Regions from separate parts of the Homo sapiens genome. Here regions 1, 2, 3 and 5 are each linked to region 4. Evidence: promoter capture Hi-C in 16 types of primary human blood cells and fetal thymus (Javierre and others, 2016). All regions are on one chromosome and are shown on one strand. Each heading gives the region's core, a stretch centred on a gene start or on the middle of the fragment in contact. The rest is flanking DNA. Distances are from core to core; before and after follow the strand shown. Region 1 holds the start of PRR13 (proline rich 13). Region 2 has its middle 4.3 kb from the start of SP7. Region 3 overlaps SPRYD3 (SPRY domain containing 3). Region 4 holds the start of ITGB7 (integrin subunit beta 7). Region 5 has its middle 21 kb from the start of SP7.

Region 1 (4,346 bases), core at 1,398-3,897, 230 kb after region 4:
GCCAGTCAGAATGGTGATTATTAAAAAGTCAAGAAATAACAGGCCAGGCCTGGTGGCTCATGCCTGTAACCCTAGCACTTTGGGAGGCCAAGGGTGAGTGAATCACTTGAGGTCAGGAGTTTGAAACCACCCTGGCCAGCATGGTGAAACCCTGTTTCTACTAAAAATACAAATATATATATGTATATATATATGGCAGGTGTGGCGGCAGGCACCTGTAATTCTAGCTACTCGGGAGGCTGAGGCAGGAGAATCGCTTGAACCCGGGAGGCAGAGGTTGCAGTGAGCTGAGATCCTGCCACTGCACTTCAGCCTGGGCGACAGAGCAAGACTCAGTCTCAAAAAAAAAAAAAAACCCAAAACCAAAATCCAGATGCTGGCAAGGTTGTGGAGAAATAGGAACATTTTTACACTGTTGGTGGGAGTGTAAATTAGTTCAACCATTGTGGAAGACGATGTGGCGATTCCTCAAAGATCTAGAACCAGAAATACCATTTGACCCAGCAATCTCATTACTGGGTGTATACCCAAAGGAATATAAATCATTCTATTACAAACATACATGCATGTGTATGTTCACTGTAGCACTATTCACAATAGCAAAGACATGGAATTAATCCAAATGCCCATCAACAATAGACTGAAAAACTGTGGTACATATATACCATGGAATACTATGTAGCCATAAAAAGGAATGAGATCATGTCCTTTATAGGGACATGGATGAAGCTGGAAGCCATTAACCTCAGCAAACTCATGCAGGAACATGTTCTCACTCAAGTGGGAGCTACACAGTAAGAACACATGGACACAAGGAGGGGAACAACACACACTGGGGCCTGTTGGGGGGTAGGGTCAGGGGAGTGAGAATATTAGGAAAAATAGCTAATGCATGCTGGGCTTAATACCTAGCTGATGGGTTTATTGGTGCAGCAAAATTTGTGCAGCAAACCAGCATGGCACACATTTAACTATGTAACAAACCTGCACATCATGCACATGTACCCCAGCACTAAAAATAAAAATTAAAAGAAAAAAAGTTTAAAATATTTCAAATGCTTTAGTTTAATATGACATATTTGGCATAAAATTTATTGTCTTAAATTTTTTTGTATCCCACTTTTTTTTTTTTTTTTTTTTGAAACAGAGTCCTGCTCTGTTGCTTAGTCTGGAGTGCAGTGGCATGATCTTGGCTCACTGCACCCTCTCCCTCCCAGGTTCAAGCGATTCTCATGCCTCAGCCTTCCCACTAGCTGGGATTACAGGTATGTGCCACCATGCCTAGCTCACTTTCTTTCTTTCTTTCTTTCTTTTTTTTTTTGAGATGGAGTCTCGCTCTGTTGCCCAGGCTGGAGTGCTATGGCGTGATCTCGGTTCACTGCAACCTCCCGGGTTCAAGCGATTCTCCTGCCTCAGCCTCTCAAGTGGCTGGGATTACAGGCACATGTCACCACGCCCGGCTAATTTTTGTATTTTTAGTAGAAACGGGGTTTTACCATATTGGCCAGGCTGGTCTCGAACTCCTGACCTTGTGATCCGCCTGCCTCGGCCTCCCAAAGTGCTGGGATTACAGGCGTGAGCCACTGCGCCCGGCCACTTGTATTTTTTTTTTTTTTTTAAAGGCTGGGTACGGTGGCTCACGCCTATAATCCCAGCACTTTGGGAGGCCGAGGCGGGCAGATCACGAAGTCAAGAGAGCGAGACCATCCTGGCCAACATGGTGAAATCCCATCTCTACTAAAAAATAGAAAAATTAGCCGCGTCTGTAGTCCCAGCTACTTCGGAGGCTGAGGCAGGATTATCGCTTGAACCCGGGAAGCGGAGGTTGCAGTGAGCCGAGGTCGCACCACTGCACTCCAGCCTCGTGACAGAGCGAGACTCCGTCTCAAAAAAAAAAAAAAAAAAAAAAAGGGAGGCCATTGTAGGGAGGCCATTGTAGCAATTCAGGGGAGAGATGAATCCAGGCGACAGATGATGGGAGGTTTGGAGCAGGGAAGACAGAGAGAAGTGGAGAGATTCCAGATATATTTGAGAGACAAAACTGATAATTTGGGGTAAGGGAGGTGAAGGAGGCAGAGGGATCACGGACGCCCTCCTTGGTTTCTGGTTTAGGCTACTTGACAGATGGCGGAGCTATGCAATTGAGAGAGGGAATCCTGGGAGAGATTATGAAATCTCTGTATCTTCCGCAAGAATGTTTGTTTGCTTCCCTTGCGAGTGTAAGACGGAGCCGGGAACATTGAGGCTTGGGGCTGGGACTCAGCAGCTCTTCTGCCCTTGCCGAGAACTCTGTCTATATCTGTATTACAACACTTACCATAGTGTATTCATTTTACAAGGTATTGCACCCAGTGAACCATGAGGTAAGAGAGCAAGGGAAGAGTTTCTTCTCGGTGTCTCTAGGACTTTGCCCAGCAGCTGGCCCCGCCCCCTCCAGCGCTCTCCGCCTAGCCCCGCCCCCAGGAGATTTCCGGCTTCTCGGTACTGGCCTAGCCGTAAAGGGCTCCGCTCCGCCCCTAGAGCAACCGTTTCCTCCTCAGTCGGACCAGAGTGATTGATTAGTTTGTTGTCTAATCATCAGTCGAGCGGCCACATAATTACCAATTAGGCAGTAGCAGAGGCGGGTGCCGAAGCACGGGGTCTGGGTGACTAGGAAGAGCCGAGACTGCGAAGGAGAACGCAGCAAGCCCAGGCGGCGGTGGAAAGGTGATGGGGTATCTGGATTCCATAGGTTTTTCCTTTTCCCCTTGCTAGGTCAAGAGTCTCTTCGCAGCTTGGGGCTAGGATCTTCATTTGCCTTTTTTCTTTTTTGGAGGAAGGGGGCTGTGTCCACATATTTAAGTATTTGAGGTTCTTGGGCAACTTCCTTCTTACTTCGCCTCGAGGCGTATCCTTTTTTTAGCCTGAGGTGGGGTCCTCCCCAGGGAGAGAGAAAGTTGTTTGAGATCCTTTCTTACTCTGTGCGTGGTTAAAGGCCTCCGTACTCAGTTCCAGGGAAAGGGAGATGAGTGATGGTGGGGCCGAGACTCGCGGGTACTGCCTACTTCCGAAGAGTTAGACGCTTCCACCTGGGTGGAGGGGCCCTGGGAACTAGATTCCTGTGTTAGGAACCAAGTAGGTATTGAGGGCGAAGAAACAAGTGGAAAGAGACATTTCTTTTCTTTTCTTTTCTTTTTGAGACGGTGTCTTGCTCCGTCGCCCAGGCTAGAGTGCAGTGGCGCGGTCTCGGCTCACTGCAACCTCTGCCTCCCGGGTTCAAGCAATTTTCCTGACTCAGCCTCCCGAATAACTGGGATTACAGGTGCCCGCCACCGCGCCCGGCTAATTTTTAGATTTTTAGTAGAGACGGGGTTTCACGATGTTGGCCAGGCTGGTCTCGAACTCTTGACCTCGTGATCCACCCGCCTCGGCCTCCCAAAGTGCTGGGATTACAGGCGTGAGCCACCGCGCCCAGCCAGAAAAGAGACATTTCTTATGTGGAAGTTGTGGTAGTTCTCCAGGTAGGAGAGCCTACTGTGGGGTGGAAGACGTTAGGGCTGGGCTCCGGTGCTAAGTCCACTTCCTACCTCTAGACCGTCATCTTTTTTGCCTCATTTCTTTCTCCTCAGGCTGGAGGACACACCTAAACATGTGGAATCCCAATGCCGGTAGGTGTTTGGGGGTTCTGTTCCACCCCTAACCCTTTTTCTGATGGGCTCTATAACAGGAAGTTTCTGTATCAGCTCCCCTACCCCCGACCTGCTGTACCCGCAAAAGCAAAGTCCTTAGTCTAGAGCTGACCAGTGCTTTTTAATTTAATTTAATTTATTTATTTTTTGAGATGGAGTCTCTGTTGCCCAGGCTCACTGCAACCTCCGCCTCCTGGGTTCAAGCGATTCTCCTGTTTCAGCCTCTGGAGTAGCTGAGATTACAGACGCATGCTATCACGCCCGGCTACTTTTTGTATTTTTAGTAGAGATGGGGGTTTCACAATTTGGCCAGGCTGGTCTCAAACTCATGGCCTCATGAGATCTGTCCACCTCGGCCTCCCAAAGTGCTGGGATTACAGGCGTGAGCCACCGCGCCTGGACTGACCAGTGCTTTTGTCTTCCTCAGAGTTCACTGTCTCCCTCCTCTCCCTAGCCCTTCCAGGGACATTCCCCCTTTTCTCCCCAACTCAAGTTTGTCTCCCCTACCCTCCATTCTTCTTTGTCATCTTTCCGTTTCCCTTTAAGTATTGAGTGAGAAAGAATCTCTTTCTTTTTGTTGTTTGTTGTTGGAGACTCTGGGGAATTCTAATGTTTATTCTCTGCTTCTTCCACCAGGGCAGCCAGGGCCAAATCCATATCCCCCCAATATTGGGTGCC
Region 2 (4,550 bases), core at 1,129-3,628, 130 kb after region 4:
AAGCCCGACCCAGTTAGATCAGGCAGGAAACTGAGGCAGAGGAGGAGAAAGTCTAGATTCTAAAGAAGAGATAGCAGGTGAGGAGGGGGTTGGGACTCAGATTAGATGAGAGAAGAAAGGAAGAAACTGAAGGGGAAAAGGAGGAAGGATGGAAAGATAAATGGACAGACAGGGCTGGGGAGAGGAGTTGGAAGGAAGGGTCACCTTCTCACTCCCCGTGTGGGCTTTAATCCCTAACCCTACCCGGGAAGGGGCAGACGTATTCAAACCCTACTATTCTCTATTCGAACCCTACTATTCTCGGAGAAATAAAAAGGAGGAGCAGAGTCCCAGGAAGATGTGAGCCAGTGCCCCGATGTGTCAACATAGGACACCCTCTGGACACAGAGCCTCTTCCCCACCAGAGATCAGCGCCAAAGATAGGCAGAGGGGCTGCCTGAATCCCCCAGCTGCTGCCCTCAGGAACCCCTGGGTTCTGACTTCTCCATGTCCTTTTTAAAAATAGTCCTGCAGCCCAGCTGAGGCTCTGGTGTTCCTGGGTCCAGCTCCCCAGTCTCCTTCCCAGTGCCCTGAGGGGCTGGGGGCAGCAATTGGAAGCCCTAACCAAGGACCTACCTCCACCCTCTCAGGCCTCCCTCAGCCCAGCCTCCCAGGGGGTGGGGCAGACCAGGGAGAGGCGCCATGTGGCAGGGGCGGGTAGAGGCTGCGGCTCTGGTCCTTCCAGTATAAACCCCCTAGGCATCTGGTTTCTATCCACCACCCCCCACCACCCTGGGGGCCCCTCAGCCTCCGCCCATGGCCACCCAGACGCTGAGCTCCAAGGGATGGATGCCCCAGACGGAAGGGGTGGGATGATGCCTTTCTGATATCCCAATGCCAGGACTGGGCTGAACCACAGGAACCATTCCCTTCCCACCCTCCCCTAGGAGAATCAGGGTGGGCTTTGTAGGTTAGAGGGGGTTGAATCTGGCACCTGCCTCAGTTCTCCAAATGATTTTGGATCTTTTTGGAAAGATCAGTGGGGTGAAAACAGAATGAAAACTGGGGAGAGTGGGGCCGGGTGCAGTGGCTCACGCCGGTAATCCCAGCGCTTTGGGAGGCCAAGGTGGGTGGATCACCTGAGGTCAGGAGTTTGAGACAGCCTGGCCAACATGGTGAAACCCCGTCTCTACTAAAAATACAAAAATCAGCTGAGCGTGGTGACGGGTGCCTGTAATCCCAGCTACTTGGGAGGCTGAGGCAGTAGAATCACTTGAACCCAGGAGGTGGAGATTGCAGTGAGCTGAGATCATGCCATTGCACTCCAGCCTGGGCAACAAGAACAAAACTCCATCTCAAAAAAAAAAAAAAAGAAAGAAAAAAAAAACTGGGGAGAGTGGGAGACCTGTACCCCCTATTCCCAAGGGATGCTACTTCCATCGTCCACACCATCACCCTCTACCACCTTTCTAGGCTGGGCTGTCTCTAAGAGCCTCATCCAAAGGGACTCCCAACTCTTCATTGTTGCTGTTATAGAAGGTTTGACTACCCTAGGGAGAATCACCAGAGAATAGTGAGCAGAGCCCCTGAAATAGAGACTGACACATGCCCTAATACATACCTGATGACAGACACATTCAGATCTGCATACTTGCACACACACAAGGTGACACATAATTCATACACATTTGTACTATGCAGGCATCCATATTGACACACACTGATATATACATATACAGATAATGCTTACCCCAAGACACCCTAACCCCCAATCATAAAAATGCACACACCAGTATATATATACATGCATACAGACTCACAGCCACCTAGAATACTCCCCACATGGACTCACAGACTCCCATCAACACACGTATCTACACATGTGGCAAATGTCACATACATATACCCAGGGCTACCATTACAACTTTACAGCCCTGGAGATCTCTGTGGTCTCCTAAAGGGCATTTGGGAACCCCTCTCCCTATAAGGATCTGGAGATAAGGGTGATATGGAGGCCACTGCCAGTCCTGCAAATTGCTGCCTCCAACTCCTACTAGTATAAGAAGTTCCAGTGTACCTTTAGGTACTTTTGATCCAATACTCCACACACACACCAGAGTTCAGAGACCCAGATGGCCCCAGCGAACTCCCTGGTCCTGGGGAACCCCAGCATCCCTACCCCCACCCAGGCCCCCGCTGCTCTGCGGCCCCGCTGACTCATCTCTCCCTCTGTGGAGCTCCCCAACCACAGGGGCCTGGAAGAGAAGCTTGGAAAGTTGCGCTCATGTCCCGGGCCCCTGGTCTGGCCACTACCCGCCCATGCACCCAGCCCAGCCCTTGTCTCCAGTGGATACTCCAGCGACAGAGAACATAGAGGGGACAGGAAAGAAGAAGGCACGCAGAGACAGGGAAACAGAAAGACACAGGAGAGACAAAGAGGAAACAACAAATGGTGGGCATACAGATGAGAGACCCTGAGGATCAGCTACTAGTCTGTTGGGTCCTCTAAGAGCAATGGGGCTGATGACCAGGAAAGCTTGCTCCTTGGGTTGAAGGAACATCCATTCATGGCCTCAGGATTTAGAGACTGCCGAGTGCCTTGACCCAGCATTTCTGACACTAGGCTCAGGGTACTTGGGGAAGAGGATCCAATTTTAGGAGGCAAAGCTGAGGACACAGGGTAGAAAGGAAGCTTTTAAGAGGCTGGCAACCTTTGTATAGGACAGCTTGGAAAAGGAGTTCCTCACCCCAACAAATATGTACACAAATTTACAGGTACAGACAGACTACAACTTCCCTCCCTCTCTGCTAGGTCTCCCCATCCCCTCTTCCAGCACCAGGGCTGCAAGGCAGGACCTCTGGGACTGACTCTGGCTCCCCTCTTCCCTGAGCCTTGGGTTCCTTCATTGACATTGAGCCCTGATATAATTCAGCAGCTTTAGGAGAGGCAGATCAGAATCAGAAACAGAAGTGCCATGGAAGGAGCAGGAAGGAATCTGGATGGCAGGGGACAAAGTGAAAAATGAAAGGAAGAGGAAGACTGGGGTCTGATTCTGAAACAAGGGGACCTGTCCTGGATGCCCGTGTCTAAAATGGGACAACATTGAATTAAGTAAGAACCTGGTCATCTCTAGAAAATGACCCTTTGTAAAAACGATACCCTAGAATCTGATCCATGAAATATACTAGTGTCTTTCATAAGAAGAAGTTGGGGTGATGGAGTTCTGATCACATCATCCCTAGGAGTGAGGCTGAGCAACTCAAGGGAATGGTCCTTCAAAATCCTAAATACAGGCCTGGTGAGGTGGCTCACACCTGTAATCCCAGCACTTTGGGAGGCCGAGGTGGGTGGATCACCTGAGGTCAGAAGTTTGAGACTAGCGTGGCCAACATGGCAAAACCCTGTCTCAGGCTGGCCGAGGTGGCTCATGCCTGTAATCCCAGCACTTTGAGAGGCTGAGGAGGGCGGATCACGAGGTCAGGAGATCGAGACCATCCTGGCTAACATGGTGAAACCCTGTCTCTACTAAAAATACAAAAAATTAGCCGGGCGTGGTGGCGGGCGCCTGTAGTCCCAGCTACTTGGTAGGCTGAGGCAGAAGAATGGCGTGACCGGGAGGTGGAGCTTGCAGTGAGCCGAGATCGCGCCACTGCACCCCAGCCTGGGCGACAGAGCGAGACTCCGTCTCAAAAAAAAAAACAAAAAACAAACAAACAAACCCTGTCTCTACTAAAAATACAAAAATTAGCTGGGTGTGGTGGCGCGTGCCTGTAATCCCAGCTACTCTGGAGGCTGAGGTAGGAGAATCACTTGAACCCAGAAGGCAGAGATTGCAGTGAGCCGAGATTGTGCCACTGCACTCCAGCCTGGAAGACAAGCGAGACTCCATTTAAAAAAAAAAAAATTCCTAAATACACACGTCTCCCCGCTTTCTCTGGCCTGCTGCATTCTTCCTCGGAGCCCAGATTTTTGAAATGTGGAATGAACTTAAAGAACATTCTTTCATTCAACAAATGTTCAGAAAGCACCTACTTTGTGCTAAGCACACTGGGCTAGACTTAGGCATGCAATAACAAGCAAGACAGACTCATCCCTTCACCTCACAAACTAACCAGCAACTAATACAAAAGAGTAGGAAGTATCTCGATAGAATAAGTACTGGAGGGCCAGGCGTGGTGGCTCACGCCTGTAATTCCAACACTGTAGGAGGCCAAGGTGGGTAGATCATAAGGTCAGGAGTTCGAGACTAGCCTGGCCAAGATGGTGAAACCCCATCTCTACTAAAAATACAAAAAAATTAGCCAGATGTGGTGGCAGATGCCTGTAATCCCAGCTACTTGGGAGGCTGAGGCAGAGAATTGCTTGAACCTGGGAGGCGGGGGTTGCAGTGAGCCAAGATTGTGCCACTGCATCCCAGCCTAGGTGACACAGAGAGACTCCGTCTCAAAAAATAAATAAATAAATAAATAATAAATAATAAAAATAAAATAAAATAAAAAATAAGTACTGGATGTTATAGGAGACAAAAGAGTAAATCTAAGCCAGTGTTGGGGGGGAATTAAGGAAGGCT
Region 3 (4,708 bases), core at 960-3,459, 140 kb before region 4:
GTACATGACATTCCGCACGTTCCGGACGGCCCGGGCAGTCGGAGACAGGATCACTGTGTCACAACTGTCATCACTGTCCCCTAGGAGACCAGGAAACCTGAGCTCCTGTGGTGCCTTTCCACCCTCGGCCCCAAGCAGCCTGGCTGGCCACCCCTACCCCACTCACCCTCACTGTCCAAAATGTAGTCCCGGGGGAACATGATTCCACAGCCCATGATGTCCCCTTTGTAACAGCGTGGCCCAAAGGGGTCCCCCACACCACTGCCATGGAAGATCTTCCCATCGTCTGTTGGAGGGAGGGGAAAGGACAAACACTTGAGGAAGGAGGGCTGACACCACACCCCCAGAGTGGCTCATGAAGCTGAACACTTCCCACCCCTCAGAGGAAGGGAAGGGTCAGGGCGGAAACAAAGATGGAGAGAGAGGCCGGGCGCGGTGGCTCACGCCTGGAATCCCAGGACTTTGGGAGGCCAAGGAGGGTGGATCACCTGAAGTCAGGAGTTTGAGACCAGCATGGCCAGCATGGCGAAACATCTCTACTAAAAATACAAAAATTAGCTGGGCGTGGTGGCGCCCGTCTGTAGTCCCAGCTACTCAGGAGGCTGAGGTGGGAGGATCACTTGAGCCTGGGAGGCAGAGGTTGCAGTGAGCCAAGATCATGCCACTGCACTCCAGTCTAGGTGACAGAGTGAGACTCCATCTCAAAAAAAAAAAAAAAAAAAAATTGGAGCGAGATATATGGGAAGGGGGCACCAAATAAAATAAAGAGACGTAGTATCCATCTGCTCAAGGTAAGGGTAAGGGAGAACCCTTAGGAAATGAGTCAGAGGAGGGGGCCCTAGGGAAGGAATGAACACCCAGGGAGGGCAGGCAGGGGGAGGTGGGTCGAGGAACTCTAGGCTCAGTTTTCTTCTAAAGAAAGCCAAGGAAACCAAGCAGCAAAAGAAAAAAGAAAATGAGGAAATGAGGGTCTGCAGGAAGGGCACGGGGGGACCAGCTCAGAGGCCTGGAATGTCCCATCTGGGCCCAGATCTCCCTCTCCTGTCCTGCTCCCCTGGTTTCCAGAGCTGGGAGGAAAACACAGATGAGGAGGAAGCACTAGCGATTTGGGAAGGGGAGGTCAGCCAGCAGCAGGGCAAACAGCAAGGCCATTTGTGAGGGGCCAGGAGAGGGGAAAGTGGATGTCCCTATGCCTCCACATCTCCCACCATCCCACCTTTCCCAGGCAGCCCGCTATTCACCTGCATGATAAGCCACAGACCCTCTGCTCCAGCCAGGGTGCCTGTTCTTGGGATAGTCCTGCACCAAGAAGAGAAAAGAAAATCTATGGTCCCATGCATAAACAAGACAGGAGAGAGTGGCGAGTAGCATCTGAACCTCTGGGACAGACCACAGCCCAGAGAGTGCCAACCCTGCACACTCATACCCTGCAGGCACTGGGGCTTCAGGGGAACCAGGGAGGGTGAGGAAAGTGTTAGTTAAGCTTTTAAGGCCAGAGCCATGGCATGTCCCACCCCCTCCCCCCAGGCCTTAGTGTGTGGTGCAGTCATGACCTGTCTCAGGTCCTTGGTCACATGGGGTGTGTACTCTTACACAGCAGACACATACAACTGTGTTCCATCTCAGCTTAGCACCCTCCCTCCAAAGCCTGGGCTCCCCTGGTTTCTCCTAAGAGCTTCCTGGTGCTGCCCCAACAGCCCCAGACCTGAGCAGCTCCATGAGCAAAAAAGCTCAGCCTTTGTGCCCACCTTCCGTGCCAGCCCCAGGGCGATGTAGCATTTCTCTCCAGGGTCCACGATCTCCACCTCGAAGTAGTGGCTGCGGGTGCTGAGTGGGTGCCGGGCCTGGGCCAGCCCCACATCCACGATGCTTTTGCCCTTCCCTAAGTACTCCAGCAGCTGTGGGGGAAGAGCCAGATGGGGGTCAGGGGACAGGCTGACACCCACCCTGGAAACCTGGGCCCAAGGCAGTCTGGGTCCCACTTTCCCAGGTCTGACAAAAACTCCTGGCTGAAAGGGAAAGAATCCTAGAGATACAATGTGGCCCCAAAGTTCTAGGCCAGCATGGAAGAGCAGGATGGGGTGGGAGGCAAAGGGGAGAGCACCCCTTGCTGAATGCCCACGCTGTCTTCCCCCACACACTTTCTGGGAGGCCGGGGAAAGCAGCACAGCTAGGGGAGCGGCACACCAGGGGGCTCTAGATGCATCCTCGCCCGCTGAAAAACCCTGCAGCCTTTCCTGCTGGGAAAGGTCCGCCCAGGGTCCCAAACACAGGGGAAAGGAGAAGCAAGACTAGCTGAGAGGAAACTTGATGACTTTCTCAGGGGGCCTAATGGGGACAGGGAGGATGCAGAAGTTAGGTGCCAACCCCAGATATTCAGGGGAAGCGGGTGAGTTCAGAAGCCAATTCTGCCTGGGATGGGCCTGACATAATTTCTCAAGGTCCTTGTTTTACTTGGCTGTGAACACAGCTGTTCTTAGCTGGGTCAGGGAGGTGCTGAGGGGAGCCCAGGGACCCAGAACGCCCAGCTCTACTCCCTCATTTCATGTGAGGGAGAGGAGAGGTCAAAATGAAGACAGAGGCAGGCTTAGCTGTTCCCAGCCCCTCATTGCTCATTCAAGTTGGAGTAGGGGCGTGGAGGTAGGATAGGGGAGATGACTGATGGGTTCTTGGGGCTCTTCAGTCCCACAATGGTCCTGCCTGGGCACGACGGGGCGGCAACCCCCAATCTGGGAGGATTTATTTGTCAGTTGTCATGGTAATAGTGGGGTGATGACTCAACCCCATCCCCTCTTTCCCCCACCTTCGGCCTCACCTGGGATTCCTTAATCTCCTTTTAATTAGCCCAACTGCCCCTCACGACTTTCTTCTACCCTCCCACCCCTGCAGCCCTGAAGGAAACATGTTGCCTAGGGACCTCCTCCACGTCTCCCTGGCAAGCTTTGGGACGCCGGCCTCTCACCTCTCACAGATTCCTGCCTGAACAGGAAAGGAATTATGCCCACCTGCACCAGCACAGAAGCCTGTGCGTGTCTCCAGCAGAGGCTGCTCCCGCATCCCCACTCCCAGCCTCAGACGGCCGCTGCTTAGCTCAGGTGCTTAGAGCGGGGTGCTACTAACCCCTTCTGAGAGTAGGACTAGAGGGGCTTGGTGCCTTTCTCAGCCCTGGATCTCAGCCCCGCCACCTCAAGTCCATCCTTCCCTCCTCTCCAAAGATAACTGGGGATGGATGAGGGGGAAAGCAGCATGCACGGGAGACCACCTAAGCCCATCCCCAAGGCCACACTGTTTGACTTCTGTTCATGGTGTATTCTCTGCTCAGCCTGGGTTCCTCCTCTGCCTCTCTCCCCGGGAAGCCAGGAGGGGTGTGGCTTGATCCACATTAACTAGTTTAGACTCCACCCAGGCAGAGCAGCCCCCAGCCCACCCTCTCCACCCAGCATTGCAGAACTGGGTGGGGGACCCCACAGCTGCCTTTGACCCATTCTATCCAACTGGCCTCGGTGTAGGAAACACAGTGTTCTCCATTTCCAGAGCCAAAAGACAGCCGATCCAGACCCTGATCCTTGGGAAATACCCGGCCAGCCCCTCCCTTTGCCTCAGCTCAGAAGAGGGTAGCTGCTGCATTTCTGTCTCTGGATAGGGTGGAGGTGCTTTCTCACGCTAAAAGCCAGGACGGACTACCCCAACATGGGTCTTTAAAACCCACTCTCTACCTGCCAACCACAGAGCACTTCGGACAGAATGCTGATGTCCTGGACGACTAGGTACTTGTACAGTGTATAGGTGAGGCTTGTACAGCGTGCCCTCTTCAGAGGGGACCGCCCAGCCCTCACAGTGAAAGCCATCATAAACCTCCTGATCCACTCTCCTGCTCCTGGACAAAGCTCCCCCGACCCCTCCTGAGCCTTCCCAGAGAACTCAGAGGGGTGGAAGTGGGGGGAATATTTGGCCTCCCTGACAGATTCTTTCTTGAGTACATTCCTCTGCCTCCTTGGTCTATAGCTGTTAGGAACCTAGAGGAGGAGTGAAGGTTAACCCTTAGAGTCTGAACTGTTAGGATCTTGATGCTGGTCCCTCAACCTGTACCTCAGAATCCAACAGACCTGGGTTCAAATCCTAACTCCTATTACTTAACAGCCGCTAACCTCAGGCAAATGACATTCACCTCCTTAAGCCTTGGTTTCTTCAACAGTAAACTGGGATAAGATTACCTGAATTTCCAAAAACAAGTGGGAAGACTTAATGAAGTGACCAATACACATTGCTGCCTCTCCCTAAATCAGTGTAAATGGGGTTACGTTGGAATTGCCGATCACAAAGAAGGAAATGATCTTTCATCTTAGCCCTTACTTCCAACTACAATGGTCCCTTAGGCCAACCAGGACGATGGCCACTCCCCAGACAACTCTACCCTATGTGTCTCCTCTCAAACAATGTCCAATCAACAGAAATGTTTCTCTGCATTTTTGGTGGGGGAAGATGGAGCCCTTTCTTTGGGTCTCCCCCTAATACACACATACCACCAAAGCCCCAAGAAGCCAAAGACATGACTCAGTGCCACAGAGTGGCGGCTGCAGACCAGAGTGTGGACAGTCTCGTGCACTCCACACCCTCCCTCTACCAGTAGCACCTTCCCAGCCTCTTCTCCCCTGCCGGTATCCGCCCTCCTCCCCTTGCCAGCAGAGACCCTAATCCCTCTTGACAG
Region 4 (4,809 bases), core at 953-3,452:
CCCTGACTTCAAGTGATCCACCCACCTCGGCCTCCCAAAGTGCTGGAATTACAGGCATGAGCCACTGTGCCTGGCCTTAAATTGTTTCTAGTTCCCTATGACAAATAATGCTGAAATGAAAAGTAATGTATGTATTTATTTATTTATTCATTTGAGAGATAGGGTCTTGCTCTGTCACCCGGCTGTAGTGTACTGGTGCAATCATGGCTCACTGCTGCCTTGACCTTGCCGGCTCAATTGATCCTTCCACCTCAGCCTCCCGAGTAGCTGGTACTACAGGCGCATGCTACCATGTCTGGCTAATTATTTTTGTATTATTTTGCAGAGATGGGGCTTCCCCATGTTGCCCAGGCTGGTCTAGAACTCCTGAGCTCAAGCGACCCACCTGCCTCGGCCTCCCAAATTGCCGTGATTACAGGCGTGAGCCATCACCCCCAGCCAAATGTCATGTATTTATCATTTCACACGTCTGCAACTGAATCTGTAGGATAAATCCCTAGCAGAGGACGTGCAGGATAACTAGATAGGTATCATTTGTAATACTGGTGTGTATTTCATCTACATTCTCATGCTAAGAAATATATATATATAGGTGGGTATTGCCAACATAAACTCTTCAGGACTTGTACTGGTCCACATTCCCATCAGCAATGTATGAGAAAGGCCAACTAACTCCTTGTCATAAACCATTTGCATCTTCTTCAGCCTGGGCCCAGAGTCAGGTCCAGATACTCTGCACAGAGTGTGGGAAAGGGGTGGGGTGTTGAGTCCTTGAATGTCCTGGTCCTGCTCCCCACCACCTGTGACCTCAGGCGCCATATATAACGGAGCCTCCACCCCTCGGGGAGAGGCCAGTCCCAGCTCAGCCTCAGCGTAACCTCAGCCCTGCTTGCTCTGCATGCCTGTGGTCAGGGAGGCTGGAGATGCTGCAACCCAAAGCCGGGTTTTGACTCATCTCTCACAAGTGGAGCCCCGGCTGCCGCATAGGTTTTTCAGAGACCTTAGGCCCACTCATCTCCCCTTAAAGGGGGCCCTGGGACTTCCTGGACAGCCCTTTCCTACCTTTCTTTCCAATTATCCTCTCTTCTCCCCTCCTTGAGAATACATGTTCTGCCACCTATTTCTCTGTCTGCTTCTCTGTCTCTCTCTGGCTCCTTTCATTTCAAAACTTCTATTGCATCTCTCTGCTGCTTTTCTCTGCTCCACTTCTTCATAGGGCTATTTTACTTCCTTTTCCCCTCTGTTCCTAACTATAGAATGGCTGAATCTACTACTCCATCCCACTCTTTTTACAAATGGAAACCTAAATTCCATGAGGCCAGGGTCACCCAGTGAACTAGGGGCAGGGCAGGACAGGGCAGGGCCAGGCCTCTGCTGTGCTTTCTCCTTTCCTCCCTCCAACCCAGGCACTATCTCCATCAAAAGTTGTGTTCTCTCCCCACTAGCCCTGGTGGGCTCTGCCTAATCCCATTTCTCTTTCCTTAGGGGTATTCTGCAGTCTTCCCTTCTCTCTCTGGGACCAAGTGGTTATTTCCATTTTTCTGGACTCCATTCTGACTCCAGTACACACCCTGTGACCCCCCTCAGCAGCTGAGAAACAGAGCCTCTTCCAAACCCATCCCTACCTTCCAAATCAAGCAGAACCCTCTGCTGCCCACTGGGAGTCACAAGGAGGGGACGGAACTGAGCTGCTGGGCCTCAGTGTCCCAGGACAGTGGAGTCTGTGACCAAGGTGCCGATTAGGAAGAAGTCTGAGCTGAAGGCAGAGCATTAGGGATAGCAGCTGGGGGTGATGTTGGAAGAACCCTCCCTCAGTATAATCGGTATACCTGCCCTACTTCGGTATAGTCCTTGGCACATGGCAGGCACTCAGATGACAGCACTCATATACATCCCTGCCTCCAGACCCACTCATGGGAAACTGATGCAGGAGAGATTGGGCTTTTGGAGAGGTGGAGGTGGGGGTACTGTGAAACTGGAGGAGGGAACCAGGTCAGGGGATCTTAGGAATGCAGAAAGGAGTTCAGAGCCTTTCTCAAGTCTGGACAGGACCCTCGGTATCCAGGTCAGAGCCCTCTTCCCAAGAGGTTGGGACCAGGTGGGCCAGAGCTTGTAAGGAGAGGAGGCAGAAGGGCTGGTGCCCTGGTACTCACAGGTGCGTGCAGAGCAGTCCTTCCTCTGGCGGCAGCAGCAGCCTTTGTGTACTGATCTGGGAGACGGCAGAGGAGGAAGTGACACTCCCCAGGGTGGGGAAGATTTGGGGTTGGTGGGGGTGACTGATCTAGAAGGTGGTGCAGATAGGGGTGGGGCTGAGCCAAGGGAGTGGACAATACAGAGATCTGGAAGAAAGAAGCCCATTTATTGAACCCCTGTCATGTGTTGAACGTAACATATTACAATTAACCCTCACAACAATCTCATAAGATAGGGGTTAATATTCCCCCAAGCCCCAATTTTACAGATGCAGAGATTGAGGCTTGGAAGCAGGAAATAAAGAATTTTGCCCAAGGTCCCACAGCTAGTAAGTAGCTAGTCTAGGATTTAAAAAAAAAAAAGAAAAAAGATTTTTATTTTAAATTTTTATTATTTTATTTTTTTTATTTTAATTTAATTTAACTTTTGAGACAGGGTCTTGCTCTGTTTCCCAGGCACAATCTCAGCTCACTGTCCCATGGCACAATCTCAGCTCACTGCAAACTCCGCCTCCCAGGTTCAAGCGATTCTCCTGCCTCAGCCTCCCGAATAGCTGGGATTACAGGGGTGCACTACCATGCCCAGCAACGTTTTATATTCTTAATAGAGACGGGGTTTCACCATGTTGGCCAGGCTGGTCTCAAACTCTTGACCTCAATTGATCTGCCCACCTCGGCCTCCCAAAGTGCTGGGATTACAGGTGTGGGCCACCATGCCCAGCCTGTTTTTTATTTTTGAGACAGGGTCTTGCTGTGTTGCCCAGGCTGGTCTGTAACTCCTGGACTCAAGCAATCCTCCCACTTTGGCCTCCTGAGTAGCTGGGATTACAGGCACACTCGGCTGGTCTGGGATTTAAATCCAGGTCTGCCTGCCTCCAAAATTCATGATCTCTCCATTTACTTATATAGGAAGGAACATGATAGGAGGGAATAGGGGCAGTAAGTACTGTAGAGAGGCCAGAAATTACAGACTTGTTCATTTTGAAAACCCAGGATACATTATATAAGTGTGCTTGACTACATAGGCTCTGGAGCCAAGTTGCTAGAGTTCAAATCCTGGCTCTACTACTTACTAGTAGTAAGGAGCTTAGCTGAGTTACTTAAACCTGCCTGCAGCTGTTTTCTCATCTGTCCAGCAAGACTCACAGGATTGTCGTGAGAATTAAAAGAGATAATTCATATCAATTGCCTACAAGACTACCTGGCACATACTAAGTAAGGGCTTGATAAGAGAATTAGTAGGGATGAGAAGTAGCAGAGGTGAGAAGTGAAGAGGCTTTGAGAAATTCAAGGTCCACACAACTGGAAACTTGGAAGAGAGAGGCATAGGGCCAGGCTCAGAGCATGTGATTGGGGAACCAGGAGCCAACACAGTAGTGGATCCTGGGAAAGGGGTGGAGGAGGTGAACTGGGAGAAGCAGAGAGTGCAGGAACAACAGCTGAAGCCAAGGCAAGGATGAAGCCCGTAGGGAGAGCAGGAAAATATTAATGGGATTTGCTCCTGGCCCATACAGATCACTAAGAGCTTTGAGAGGGAACTAGACATGAGGTCTGTGTTCACAGGTCGATCTCCCCTACCAGAAGGAGCACTCCTTGTAGGCAGGGACTGGCTCTACAAGGCTTCCCTGCTGGAGCCACCACACCTAGCCAAGTGCCCATCTTATAGTAGGTGCTCAATAAATGTCAGATGGATTGCAGAGGTGTAGCTGCTAGGAGGGGACAATTGGAGAGGAGGGGCTCTTTCTCTGGGTGGGCTTGGCTGGCCTCAGGCTATGGGATAGCCAGGACCTATACCCTTCCCCCACAACCAGGGGTTACCACGGCAATGACCCTCCTTCCCCACAGGCCCTGTGGTTTCCTCTAGAGCTTCTTTCACTTTCTTCTTCTGCTTTCCGCCCTCCACTCTTCTCTCCCCTACTCCCACATCCTCAACTTTTTTGTCATAACCACAGGTCACCAATGAAGAGAGCCAGGAACAAGGTAGGCAAGGCACTGTCCCAGGGAAGGTAGGACACGGAGGAGGGGCTTGAGGGGAGTCACAGAGGGCGAAGGGAAGAGTACAGGGTGCAGCAGTAGAGGCCAAAGGCACTGCAAAGGCGTGTTGCAGAGGGAAGGCGTGTGGGAGCAAGGACAGATATTCGGAAAGAAGGTAACAGTGCAGGTGGCAGTGAGTGGAGGTCATGGGGTGAAGAGTGGGAACAGAGAGGGTGGGGGGAGTAAGGTATAAGGTGATAGCAGGGTGGTTGGGGACAGAAGGCCAGAGGGCTCCCTGGGTGAGGGGCTGGTGTAAAACAGTAACACTGTAGCTTAGATGCGGGCTTCTTCTCTTCTGGGGCCAGGAGCCCTCATGAGAACTAAATGAAACTTCAGGGCAGGCATGGTGGCTCACGCCTGTAATCTCAACACTTTGGGAGGCTGAAGTAGGTGGATCACTTGAGGTCAGGAGTTCGAGACCAGCCTAGCCAACATGGTGAAACCCCATCTCTACTAAAAATACAAAAATTAGCTGAGCATGGTGGTGCGCCCCTGTAATCCCAGCTACTTGGGAGGCTGAGGCAGGAGAATCGCTTGAACCCGGGAGGCAGAAGTTGCAGTGAGCCAAGATCACACCACTGCA
Region 5 (4,762 bases), core at 1,604-4,103, 150 kb after region 4:
TCTACTAAAAACATAGAAAAAATTAGCTGGGCATGGTGGCACGTGCCTGTAATCCCAGCTACTCGGGAGGCTGAGGCAGGAGAATCGCTTGAACCCAGGAGGCGGAGGTTGCAGTGAGCCGAGATCGCGGCACTGCACTCCAGCCTGGGCAACAAGAGCAAAAACTCCGTCTCAAAAAGAAAAAAAAAGAGTTAATGAAGATAAATAAAGAGCCGGGAGCTAAGCACAGTGGTGCACACCTATAGTCCCAGCTACTCTGGAGGCAGAGGCAGGGGGAGACCTTGGGCCCAGGAGTTCAAACATGCAGTGATCTATGATAATGTCATTGCACTCCAGCCTGGGTGACAGAGCAAGATGGATGGAAGGAAGCGAGGGAGGGAGGAAGGCAGGAAGGAAGGCAGTGGGGAGGGAGGGAGAAAGGAAGGAAAATAAAAGAAAAGAAAAAACAAAAGAAGAAACAAAAGAAAAGAAGGGCTGGATGTACTGGCACATGCCTATAGTCCCACAGGAGGGTCGCTGGAGTCCAGTTTGAGCCCAGTTCCAGATCAGCTACATGATGAGACCTTTTTTTTTTTTTTTTTTTTGAGATGGGGTCTCATTCTGTCACTGAGGGTGGAGTACAATGGCGTAATCTTGACTCACTGCAACCTCTGCCTCCCAGGCTCAAACAGTCCTCCTACCTCAGCCTCCTGAGTAGCTGAGATCACAGGCGAGCACCACAACACCCGGCTAATTTTTTTGTATTTTTGGTAGAGACTGGGTTTCGCCATGTTGCCCAGGCTAGTCTTAAACTCCTAAACCCAGGTGGTCCACCCACCTCAGCCGCCCAAAGTGCTGGGATTACAGGCGTGAATCACTGCGCCCAATGAGACCCTGTCTTAAGAAAAAAGAAAGAAGAAAAAAAGAGGCTGGGCACAGTGACTCATGCCTGTAATCCCAGCACTTTGGGAGGCTGAGGCGGGTGGATTGCTTGAGTCCAGGAGTTCCAGACCAGCCTTGGCCTCTGGAAGGCTTTGTGAAACCACACCTCAGGTAAAAATACACACAGACACACAAAATTAGCCAGGCGTGATGGCATCCACCTGTAGTCCCAGCTACTTGGGAAGCTTGAGGTGGGAGAGTCACCTGAGCTTGGGGAGACAGTTTGCAGTGAGCTGCCGTCCTACCACTGCACTCAAGGTCTAATCTTTGTTCTCAGAAAGCCCACAGAAACTTAAAAGAAGAAAAAGAAATGAAGAGTTATTGAAAGATGTGGAGTAAGGAGGTGAAATGACCAGGCTTTTATATTAGAATCTTCACCATGAGAAAGTATTACACAGAACTATAAGGTAACATGTTTGAGAATATTCATGACAGCTTTCTGGTTCAAGAAGCTAGTTCTTGGCCAGGCGTGGTGGCTTCACACCAGTAATCTCAGCACTTTCGGAGGCTGAGGTGGGTGGATCACCTGAGGACAGGAGTTTGAGACCAGCCTGGCCAACATGGTGAAACACCATCTCTACTAAAAATATAAAAACTAGCCGGGCTTGGTGGTGGGTGCCTGTAATCCCAGCTACTTGGGAAGCTGAGGCAGGAGAACTGCTTGAACCCAGGAGATGGAGGTTGCAGTGAGCCAACACGGTGCCACTGAACTCCAGCCTGGGCAACAGAGTAAGACTATGTCTCAAAAAGTAATAATAATAATAAAAAAGTTAAAAAGAAGCTAGTTCTCCATCTTGCAGGGAATACTATGCATAAGTTAGAAGTGATAAACTAGGCCATGTGCAGTGGCTCACACCTGCAATTCTAGCATTCCAGCACTTTGGGAGGCTGAGGCAGGAGGATTGCTTGAAGCCAGTAGTTAGAGACCAGCCTGCTCAACATAGCAGGACCCCATCTCTACGATAAAAAATAAAATAAATGGGCCGGGCGCAGTGGCTCATGACTGTAATCCCAGCACTTTGGGAGGCTGAGGGAGGCAGATCACCTGAGGTCAGGAGTTTGAGACCAGCCTGGCCAACATGGCGAAACCCCATCTCTACTAAAAATACAAAAATCAGCCGGGTGTGGTGATGGGTGCCTGTAATCCCAGCTACTTGGGAGGCTGAGACAGGAGAATCGCTTGAACCTGGGAGGTGGAGGTTGCAATGAGCCGAGATCGTGCCATTACACTCCAGCCTGGGCGAGAAGAGCAAGATGCCGTCTCAAAAAAACAAAAAACAAAAAACAAAAACAAAAACAAACAAACAAATAAAATAAATGAAGTGATAAACTAGATATACCTGTAGAAACATGTATAAATCTTTTTTTTGCTGGATGAAACTTTTTTTTTTGAGACGGAGTCAAGTCTTGCTCTGTCACAAGGCTGGAGTGCAGTGGCGCGATCTCAGCTCACTGCAACCTCCACCTCCCGGGTTCAAGTTATTCTCCTACCTCAGCCTCTCGAGTAGCTGGGACTATAGGCAGCATGTGCCACCACGCCCAGCTGATTTTTGTATTTTTAGTAGAGACAAGGTTTCACCATGTTAGCCAGGATGGTCTCAATCTCTTGACCTCATGATCGGCCCCCCTCAGCCTCCCAAAGTGCTGGGATTACAGGCATGAGCCCCAACAACCAACTGAAACACTTTATTTTATTTTTAATTTAATTTAATTTTTATTTTTGTATTTTTAGTAGAGAAGGGGTTTCACCATGGTCTCGATCTCCTGACCTCGTGATCCGCCCGCCTCAGCCTCCCAAAGTGCTGGGATTACAAGGGTAAGCCACTGCGCCTGGCCTTTATTTTTATTTTTTTGAGACGGAGTCTCACTCTGTCACCCAGGCTGGAATACGGTGGCCCAATCTCAGCTCACTGCAAGCTCCGCCTCCCGGGTTCACGCCATTCTCCTGCCTCAGCCTCCCAAGTAGCTGGGACTACAGGCATCAGCCACCTCGCCCCTCTAATGACCAGCATTAAAACAGAGATCTTGGCCAGGCACAGTGGTTCACGCACGTAATCCCAGCACTTTGGGAGGCCGAGGCGGGTGGATCACCTGAGGTCAGGAGTTGGAGACCAGCCTGACCAAGATGGAGAAACCCTGTCTCTACTAAAAATATAAAATTAGCCGGGTGAGGTGGCACATGCCTGTAATCTCAGCTACTCGGCAGGTTGAGGCAGGAGAATTGCTGGAACCTGGGAGACGGAGGTTGTGTAGGCCAGGCACAGTGGCTCACGCCTATAATCCCATCACTTTGGGAGGCTGAGGCAGGCAGATCACCTGAGGTCAGGAGTTCAAGACCAGCCTGGCCAACATGGTGACCCCATTCTCTACAAAAATACAAAAATTAGCCAGGCATGATGGCAGGTGCCTGTAATCCCAGCTACATGGGTGGCTGAGGCAGGAGAATCACGTGAACCCGGGAGACAGAGGCTGCCTCGAGCCGAGATCAAGCCATTGTACTCTAGCCTGAGTGACAAAGTGAGACTCTGTCTCAAAAAACAGAAAAAGGCAGGGCGTGGTGGTTCACGCCTGTTTAATCCCAGCACTTTGGGAGGCCGAGGTGGGTGAATTACCTGAGGTCGGGAGTTCAAGACTAGCCTGACCAACATGGAGAAACCCTGTCTCTACTAAAAATATAAAATTAGCCACGTGAGGTGGTACATGCCTGTAATCCCAGCTACTCGGCCGCTTGAGGCAGGAGAATCGCTTGAACCCGGGAGGCGGAGGTTGCGGTGAGCCAAGATCATGCCACTGCACTCCAGCCTGGGCAACAAGAGCGAAACTCCGTCAAAAAAAAAAAAAAATTAGCTGTGTGTGGTGTCACCTGCCTATGGTCCCAGCTACTGGGGAGGCTGAGGCAGGAAGATCACTTGAGTCTGGGAGGTTGAGGCTGCAGTGAATCATGATTGCACCACTGCACTCCAGCCTGGGCGACAGAGCAAGACCGTCTCAAAAAAAGAAAGAAACATTTAACAGGGACTTACAAACAGAAGCCCTGTTTGTATCTCTGGCAGTGGTGAGACAAGACAGTGTATCCCTGTGCCATTAATCTCCAGATCCAGAATTTATATACCATAGGGAAGGAATGTGTAGGACAATTGAAGTCGACCTCTATGGGAAAGGCAAGAATGTTCTGTGAATCTGCCTAAGGGCAAGATTCATGGTCAAGGTGGTCTTGACCTAAGGGCAGGATTTATGATAAGTATATGCTCTTACCCAAAGATCAGTAGATAAAATAAAAATTTTAGAGGCATTCCTGGAGCTGGGGTTATTCAGAAGTCAACATAGCAGATTAACATCCAAGATGGAGTTGCTTCAGCCTCCATTCTGTAAAACTCTAGAAAAAAATAAATCTAGGGGCCAGGCACAGTGGCTCATGCCTATAATCCCAGCACTTTGGTAGGCCGAGGCGGGTGGATCATGATGTAAAGAGATTGAGACCATCCTGGACTCCATCTCAATTAAAAAAAAAAAAAAATTAGCTGAGCGTGGTGGCAGGCAACAAGAACAAAACTCCTGTCAAAAAACAAAACAAAACAACAACAACACCTGCAGCGTGTGTAGAATTTAAAAAAAGACAATCCATAGGGAGAAAATATTTGTCATATTTTAAACAAATAATTAATATCTAATACACATAACAAGCTTCTTTAAGTCAAACAATGCAATACAAAAATATAGCCTGAGCCAGGCGCGGTGGCTCACGCCTGTAATTCCAGCATTTTGGGAGGCCGAGGTCGGTTGATCACTTGAGGTTGGTAGTTCAAGACCAGCCTGACCAACATGGAGAAACCCTGTCTCT

Evidence for each region. Contacts are between HindIII fragments. The CHiCAGO score rates a contact against its expected background, and 5 or more counts as called.
Region 1: the fragment with the promoter of PRR13 here is called in contact with the fragment with the promoter of ITGB7 in region 4 in 1 of 17 cell types (neutrophils); the score reaches 5.3 in neutrophils.
Region 2: a contact is called between a fragment that was not itself captured here and the fragment with the promoter of ITGB7 in region 4, in 11 of 17 cell types (neutrophils, total B cells, activated CD4 T cells and 8 more). The highest score is 12.7, in neutrophils.
Region 3: a contact is called between a fragment that was not itself captured here and the fragment with the promoter of ITGB7 in region 4, in 1 of 17 cell types (erythroblasts). The highest score is 5.8, in erythroblasts.
Region 5: a fragment that was not itself captured here is called in contact with the fragment with the promoter of ITGB7 in region 4 in 1 of 17 cell types (neutrophils); the score reaches 8.7 in neutrophils.

What each region holds. Positions count from the first base shown.
Region 1 is chr12:53,439,087-53,443,432 of GRCh38, forward strand. It overlaps PRR13 (proline rich 13), which reads left to right and starts at 2,648. Exons shown (of 4, transcript NM_018457.4): 1 at 2,648-2,706; 2 at 3,609-3,647; 3 at 4,305-4,346. The coding sequence starts at 3,629. RefSeq lists enhancers at 1,620-2,385, 2,116-2,205 and a silencer at 2,496-2,645. The HindIII fragment of the contact is 19,365 bases long and covers 1-4,346 here.
Region 2 is chr12:53,338,390-53,342,939 of GRCh38, forward strand. It overlaps a transcript of SP7 not described here. Among named protein-coding and RNA genes, the nearest start is that of SP7, 4.3 kb to the left of the region's middle. The HindIII fragment of the contact is 269 bases long and covers 2,245-2,513 here.
Region 3 is chr12:53,066,407-53,071,114 of GRCh38, forward strand. It overlaps SPRYD3 (SPRY domain containing 3), which reads right to left. Exons shown (of 11, transcript NM_032840.3): 7 at 1,749-1,898; 8 at 1,242-1,299; 9 at 167-286; 10 at 1-80. Among named protein-coding and RNA genes, the nearest start is that of SPRYD3, 11 kb to the right of the region's middle. RefSeq lists an enhancer at 1-34. The HindIII fragment of the contact is 1,457 bases long and covers 1,482-2,938 here.
Region 4 is chr12:53,205,049-53,209,857 of GRCh38, forward strand. It overlaps ITGB7 (integrin subunit beta 7), which reads right to left and starts at 2,203. Exons shown (of 16, transcript NM_000889.3): 1 at 2,154-2,203. RefSeq lists an enhancer at 243-332. The HindIII fragment of the contact is 16,923 bases long and covers 1-4,809 here.
Region 5 is chr12:53,354,933-53,359,694 of GRCh38, forward strand. No RefSeq gene overlaps it. Among named protein-coding and RNA genes, the nearest start is that of SP7, 21 kb to the left of the region's middle. The HindIII fragment of the contact is 3,499 bases long and covers 1,105-4,603 here.